Regions from separate parts of the Homo sapiens genome. Here region 2 is linked to region 1. Evidence: promoter capture Hi-C in 16 types of primary human blood cells and fetal thymus (Javierre and others, 2016). All regions are on one chromosome and are shown on one strand. Each heading gives the region's core, a stretch centred on a gene start or on the middle of the fragment in contact. The rest is flanking DNA. Distances are from core to core; before and after follow the strand shown. Region 1 holds the start of AEBP1 (AE binding protein 1). Region 2 overlaps GCK (glucokinase).

Region 1 (3,830 bases), core at 923-3,422:
GCACATCAGCCTGGCATGGAGGGCAGCTGCCTCCCATCCACCTGCCCACACCCTTGGTGTCAGAGGGCCCCCAACATCATGGCCCTCCTTGTGGCCCAGCTCTCCATGAGAGCTTTTGCACATGTTTTTGTTGGTGACTCGCTGTGACTGAAGAAAAGCCTCCTTCTGTTCCTTTTTTGTTTTCTTATGGCTTCTATTTTCCCTGGCAGAGGATGTTGGACCCAAATCCAATCCATGTGTGAGTTGTTCCCAGGGAAGTGACGTGCCACGCTGCTTCACCCCAGCCTTGGGCCGCCGGGCTTGACATGCTCAACTGGGGCAACGGAGCAAATTCCCAGAACAAGTTTTGAGAAAGATGATTCAGAGCTTTGCAGAGGATGAGGAAAGGGGAGAGCTTGCGGATCCTTGCTGCCACCAGGACTGGCCTGGGGGCACGTGGCAGGCAGAGGCAGGCTCAGGTGCACAGGGAGCCTGGGTGTTGGGGCTCAGGGTCTGCTCTGAGCGCCCCAGTGGGCACAGCTCAGGTTGATCTCTGAGGGCAAATGATGAGAGCTAAAAGGCAGCAGTGTGAGTGCCAAGAATGTGTGCTAGGCACAGCACATGCATGATCCTGTATGAACGACAAGGAGAACAGGGACACAGGTGGACGGCACTGAGGCTACCTGCCGAGATGTGGTGCCTGGGAGGTAGAGCCAGAACCTGACACAGTCCCACTGCTTTTTCAAGGAGATGCAGTGAGAAAGCAAAGGCAGGGTCTTGGCAGGACCAGGTGTGAGAGGAGGCAAGGCCTCCTTGTGGTCCTGCTCCCAGGGGGTGGCATGTATCCCAGGCCCAGCAGCCTCCACTGTGGCCTCCCCGGCTGCTGCCTGCTCCAACTCACTCGGGGCTGCTCTGGGGACCCAGGTGCTTCCTGACCCACTTTTCCTCTTTCCTTTTGACCCCAGGTCCAAACTCTGCCCTGTCAATCATCCCAGGGGCTCCTAGGCTTCCCTACCTGACTACTTCACTGGGGCCAAACCCCGCAGACAATCGTGGCTTAGGGCTGTCTGCCTCTGCACTTGGCCCATGGACTACCTGTGAGCTTTCTCTTGTGTCCTCATTCCTTTAAGGGGGAATGTCCTCGGAGCTCTGTCCTTAGCTCCCCATTCCTCCAGTATGAGACAGGGACTAGGCTTGAGTCACGGGGGACTGTGCTGTGTCACGCCCTGCCATACTAATGGGACCACTCTGCCTGTTGATGGCCGTTGTAGGGCAGCCAACATTTGCCCTGGAGAAGCCTTATGGCAAACACCAGGCACCAAGGTGCACATCCCTGATGGATCCTGGGATCAGTTGACACTCAATCCACCTGCCTTCTGGGTCCTCTGGGCCCTCTGGGTCCATGTGGCAGCTGGAGGTATGGTAGACACTTTTTAAAAAATGAGTTCTGGTAAGAAGAAGGTGATAAATGGCTATTTGTCCACGTTGGGACCCGGAGGGGAGGGATGGCATGCCCTTACATGGGACTCCTACCCCCAGCGGGGCAGCTGGCCACTCTGAGGGCAGTTTTGCACCTGCCTCCTGGCTGGAAAGTGAGTTCCCACTGTGCTGTCCCTCCCTGGGGCCCAGCACGGGGCCCGGCCCCACACCGACCTGAAGAGGTTGGTAGGATGACTGAATGAATTGACGCTGGGATGCAGCAGGGCCCATGGGCAGAGGCTCCAGAGCCTGGGAAGGATGGGGTGGCCTTTCTGTGGCCCTCCGAATTGAGAGAGGTCTCAGAGGCCTGACACCACGGCTTTCCGTCCAGGGTTCCTGGTCACCCGCGGAGGGCTCAGAGCCCCGGTGGACTCGGGGTCCCGCCTTAAGGGGGGTGCCTAGGGCAGAAGGAGGAGGGATGTCGGCCCCCTCAGACCCGCACCCCAGGCCCTCCCCACCACCTTTCCTTCCCTCAGGCCCTCTGTCTTCCCAGTCGCCCCGCCCCCTGCCCCTCTGTCCTAGGCGCAAGTCTCCGGGCTTGGGACGCTCGCCGCCAGCGCCCGCCCGCCTGCCCCGCCCCTAGCCCCCCGCCCCCCGCCCCCCGCCCCCCCGCAGCCCCTCCGTCCACTCTCGGCTCCTCCTTCTCTTCCTCCTCCTCCTCCCCGGGGGTGGGGAGCCGGCTCCGGAAGCCCCGGCGCCCCCGCCCCGGGCCCCGCCAGCGCTTTGGAGACGGCTATCCGCGCGGGAGTGCGCCACGCGGGGCCGGAGCGCCTATTAGCCGCCAGGACCTCGGAGCGCCCCGACCACCCCTGAGCCCCTCTGGCTTCGGAGCCCCCCAGCACCCCTTCCCGGGTCCCCTCGCCCACCCTAATCCACTCTCCCTCCCTTTCCCGGATTCCCTCGCTCACCCCATCCTCTCTCCCGCCCCTTCCTGGATTCCCTCACCCGTCTCGATCCCCTCTCCGCCCTTTCCCAGAGACCCAGAGCCCCTGACCCCCCGCGCCCTCCCCGGAGCCCCCCGCGCGTGCCGCGGCCATGGCGGCCGTGCGCGGGGCGCCCCTGCTCAGCTGCCTCCTGGCGTTGCTGGCCCTGTGCCCTGGAGGGCGCCCGCAGACGGTGCTGACCGACGACGAGATCGAGGAGTTCCTCGAGGGCTTCCTGTCAGAGCTAGAACCTGAGCCCCGGGAGGACGACGTGGAGGCCCCGCCGCCTCCCGAGCCCACCCCGCGGGTCCGAAAAGCCCAGGCGGGGGGCAAGCCAGGGAAGCGGCCAGGGACGGCCGCAGAAGGTAAGAGCCCAGGGCAGGGCGGGGGTGTGGGGGGCTGGCATCTCAGGTGGGAACAGGGGGATTCGGTAGGGTCTGGCCACTCCCCAGTCTGCTAGGGGAGGAATGGCTGGCTTACTAATGCGCACGCGAGCCCAGATGCCTGGAGGGACCCTGTGCTAGGCCGAGGTCAGCGCTGGCGTGGAGGCACATCCAGCACCCGGGCGGCAGGGCCGCTTTTGGGGGCCGGTGGCTCTAGGGTTGGTGCTGTGGTTGTACGGGTCGCTTATCCCCATTCCTCCAGTACGCGACAGGTACTAGGCTTGAGCCACAGGGGACTGTGCTGTGTCACCCCCTGCCATACTAATGGGACCACTCTCCCTGTTGGTGGCACAGCTTCACGTCGTCCCTCCCTCCTGCCTTTGCCCTCCTACTCCAGGAGGTCTCACGTAGGTGAGAGAGTTTCAGGTGGTGGTGAGCACAGGGCTTCAGGTGGTGGTGAGCAATGGGTGGTCCTACATTAGTACAGGAAATTAGATGAGGTGATGCATCACTGAAGCATTTAACCCACGGCCTCTTGCATAATCAGTTGTCAGTAAATCTTAGCTGTTTTCATCGTGGCCCTCTGGAAGGTGGCAGAGGGTCTTGTGATCCCTGTCTCCCAGGAGATTCCAAGGCACCATCCAACATTCCTGATGTCAGCAGCCCCTCCCCTGCCACCCCAGCTCTAGATCTTTCCTGGCTGCTTCCCACACCCTGGGCTGCCTGTGCCCCTCCTGCCTCTGGCTCTCCTTCCAGGCTTGCTCTCCTGGCTCTGGGGCACCGCTCTAGCAGCCCTGCGTCCCCTGGCTGTCTGCATTTGGTAGCTTTCCTGTGTTTCTGCCAAACTTCCCTCATGCTCCCCACCTCTCATCAGGTTCTCAACAGCACTTGCAGCTCCTGCTTAGGGTCCTGGGAGGATTCCCATGGGGAATCCTCACAACCAGTCCCTGCTCCCTCTCCCAGACTCTGAAATGAGTGTGCAGCCACAAGCTCCCTACCTGTCTTTTCTGTCCTCTGTGTGATCCCTGAACCCCCCAGGACTCCCTATCCTTCCAATCAATTCCAA
Region 2 (3,713 bases), core at 1,099-3,598, 56 kb after region 1:
AAGGGAGGTGGGAGGGGCTGAGGAGAGGAACAGAAGGGCCTGGGAAGAAGAGGTTCCATCTGACCTGGGAGTTGGGTTGTGGGAGTTGGGATCTTGGTCTGGGCATGTTAACACATCTGCCAGCCAAGGGGCGATTTGTTCCAAGTAGCAGTTGGCCATGTGAGGCCCGAGTTCAGAGGAGAGTCTGGCTGGAGAGGTAGATGTGGAGCCATCAGTACAGAGACAGTCCTTAAGGCCACTGGCCTGGACATGGTCACCAGGGTGTACAGGTTGGATAGCAGTGGGAGAGGCGGAGCTGGTCAGGCAGGGCTGCCAGGGGCAGGATGCTGTCCCTTTTATGCAGTGAGCAGTGCTTTGTGACCCCACCTCCAGAACGCAGTAAAAAAGGCAGGATGCCTTCTAGTGCCGCCTTTGGCAGATGTGGACTGAGGAACTGTCTATTCCAGCACTGGGAGGGGCCGGCTGGTGGAGCTGTGGGTCCCTGAGGAAATGGCCAAGGGCCAGGGCAGTCCCTGGGCAGATGCTGCAGGCCTGGGGGCTCCAGAGCCCATCCGAGTGCCAGATGTCCAGCTGTAGCCTGGCCCCCTCCATTCCTGGGCCCTCAGGTGGCTATGTACACAGAAGTGAGTGGCCTTGGGCTAGTGCCCACATTCTCCTGAGGGACAGAATCCCTGATCCACCAACCCCTGGAAATGCCATGCAGAGCCCCCAGAGAGCCAGACAGCCCTGGGCAGCCAGCCAGCTCCCCCCATAAAAGCCCCAGGCCAGGCCCCGGACACTGGTGTCCTGGGTCACCGTTAGCTCCAGGAATAAGTACCCTAGAACCCCTCGAGAGGCTGGACACTGGATAGCCACAGTGAGGAGGGGTGGTGGGCAGAGGGCCAGTGGCAGGCACAGCTGCCCTAGCCAGGACCCCCAAGGCCCATGTGCCTCCTTCCAAGGTGCCCCAAGCCTGCTCGCCTTCCCTGCCCCCAGCCTTAGTTTTGGTAATCTGCAAAACCAAGGGCCCTGCCCTGGGTGCTGCTCTCCCAGTGCAAAGTCCCTAACTTTGGTGTGACCCTTACCAGAGTCAAGGCTGTCTGGGCCTGGCTCCTTGTGACATCCATCGCCATCTCTCCGAGGGGCTAAGAGGTAGATGCTTTGGGAGGCAGAGATGCTCCTGCCTGCTGAGGCCTAGCACATGCTGTAGCCTTGGAGCGTAAGGCCCGCCTGTGGCAGCAACGGCTGCTTGGATGGAGAGCTGCCTGAGGCTGGCAGCCCAGGGCTTCTGCACTGAAAGGGCTCAGCCTGGCGGCTGCTCAAATACTCTGCCCCCTGCCATGGGGTCAGAGGCAGGGCAGAAAGGGAGGGTAGGCCATGTGGGTAACAGTTGACAGGGCCACGGGGACAGAGCCATGGGGCAGCCGGCCACACTCTGTGAACATGGGGTAGGGATTGCTGCCCAGCAGGAGGGGGTGTGCAGAGCCAGCCTACCCATCTTCCATTCCTCAGCCTTGTGCGGGCAGAAAGTCACCAGGCTGCCTTGGCCACAGAACACTTACTGAAATGCCCTTGGACAGGGAGGGGGTCCTAAGGGGGCCTGGCCCGCGCTGGTGCAGGTCTGGACTTGCTCTTGGAGGCAAGGGGATCCCCAGTGGATTTTCATCTGCAGAGAGGTTCGATTTGCATTTCATACAATCCAGGGGTCTGTATGGAACTTGGGGAAGGGGTGGTGGAGGAAGGTGGCCAACTGATCAAAAACAAACAAAAAACAGGGGTATCATTCTTAATTTTGTGACTGCAAAGTCCAGGCCTCAGGCTTGCTTTGGGTGCCTCCATGGGCATAGACCATGACTTCCAGGCTCTGGCCCAGGCCTCTCCTTGGGCTCACCTGGGAGTGACATCCACATGCTATGTACTTGCTGGCACCTGCCAAAGCCTGCTAAAATTAGCTGGAGCTGGCAAGTGGGTCAGGGTATGGAGGGTGCCTTGTCAGAATGCCAGGTCTCTCGCCAATGGCCAGAGTGATCACTCCCAAGAAAGCCCTTGATACAATTGATCCCTTTCCCAATATAGAGCAGAGATGGCCTCATCAGATCTCATGTGACAGGCCACTGACCCCCACAGCCCCCAGCTCTGAGCTACTGTTTGCTCATGGGGGCAGGGCTCACACCCAGGTTTGGAGTGGCACTGGGGCCTTCTGGTTCAGCCAGGCCAAGAAGCAGCCACCCAGCGAGACTTGCCCTTCTTCTGGGCCAAGCACACAGCACAGGGGAGGAGAATCTAAATTCAGTTCTCAAGAAAGGCTGAGGATGTGTACAAAGCCTGAAGCTGAGGCAAGTGGGCCCCCTTTCTTGGTTGACTGAACTGCCAGTGCCCTCTCTAGCCTCTATTTAGAGCAACAGGCATCCCCTAGAGTTCCTTTCTGGGAGCCACCTGCTGATATTCATTGGCATCCATGAGGCCAGAAAGCGGCCCAACACCCCTACTTCCCCACACCGTCTAATTCTCCGGGACCAGATTCTCATGACTCATGCCAGCCCTCCTGGGCACCCACCCTTGTCCTGTCTCAGTGCCTCTTCTTCAGGATAAGGGGTGACACCAACAGTCTGTACTGCACTGGAGTTGAGAGTCATTGTAGCAGGAACAGTTCCTGCTTTCCAGGAATTTTGGAAGGGCAAGACTGTCCAGAACCTGTCCAGAGAAGAGGGGCCAAGAAGGGGAGGGCCTCAGAGATGATGGCTCATGGAGGATGACCAGGACATGCTTAGAGTCTTCAGTAGCTCAAGGGCTGTCCCGAGGAGGATGGATGAACATTGTTTCTGCTTAGAGCTTTCTAAAAAGACAGAACTGTGCAGCTGTGGGCTAGGATGTCTCAGTAGATAGTGAACTCCCCATTTCATGGGGAGAGAAAGACAAGAGCAGAATCAGAAGGGACCTTGCTCTATGTCCCAGTGGTACCCCCATTTCTTAGTTGCTCAGGGTTCTGATTGACAGACATGACTTGATTTTCTTTTTCATTCATCAAAAGAAAATAATATGACAAGTTTGGTGATGGATATTCAAGATGATTAATTCTACTATCAAAAAACGAGACACAACCCACATACCCAACTACAGGAGGTTGGTTAAATAAATTATGCTACACTTACATGTAGTCATTAAAAATGGTAAGATTCATCTGCTCTATTGGCATGGAAAGATGTTCATGACATACTGTTGAAAGGGAATGTGTAGCCGCCCTTGAAGCTGGCCTTCAATTAGCCCTGCTTCTGGTATTCACCCCATGGTATAGTCTCTTCCATGCAGAATAGGTCTAGCCTGTGTAACTAATATGATAATGCAGAAATGGTGGAGTATGACTTTGGAGCCTAAGCCAGAAAAGACCCTGTGGTTTCTGCCTTGTTCTCTCCTGGACTGTTCCCTCTGGGGGAAGCCAACTGCTATGCTATGAGGTTGCCTACAAGAACTCTGGGAAGATCCATTGAGAAGAAGCGAAGTCTCTTGCCAATACGCAACTCCAACTTGCCAGCCATGTGAGTGGACCACTTTGGAAGCAGCTCCTCTGGCCCCAGTCAAGCCTTCAGGTGATGCAGCCCCAGCCAAAACCCTGACCTCAGGAGAGACACCAAGCCAGACCACCCAGCTAAGCTGCTTCTGAATTCTTGACCTACAGAAACTGTGTGAGATAACAAAGGTTTGTTGTTTCAAGCTACTATGGTTTTTTTTAAAAA

Evidence for each region. The method cuts DNA at HindIII sites, captures the fragments that hold promoters and counts their contacts. A CHiCAGO score of 5 or more calls a contact.
Region 2: a contact is called between a fragment that was not itself captured here and the fragment with the promoter of AEBP1 in region 1, in 2 of 17 cell types (M1 macrophages and endothelial precursors). The highest score is 6.2, in M1 macrophages.

Annotation. Positions count from the first base shown.
Region 1 is chr7:44,102,173-44,106,002 of GRCh38, forward strand. AEBP1 (AE binding protein 1) reads left to right here and starts at 2,173. Exons shown (of 21, transcript NM_001129.5): 1 at 2,173-2,746. The coding sequence starts at 2,494. The HindIII fragment of the contact is 6,426 bases long and covers 1-3,830 here.
Region 2 is chr7:44,158,009-44,161,721 of GRCh38, forward strand. The region is part of intron 1 of GCK (glucokinase); the gene reads right to left. Among named protein-coding and RNA genes, the nearest start is that of MYL7, 19 kb to the left of the region's middle. The HindIII fragment of the contact is 6,327 bases long and covers 1-3,713 here.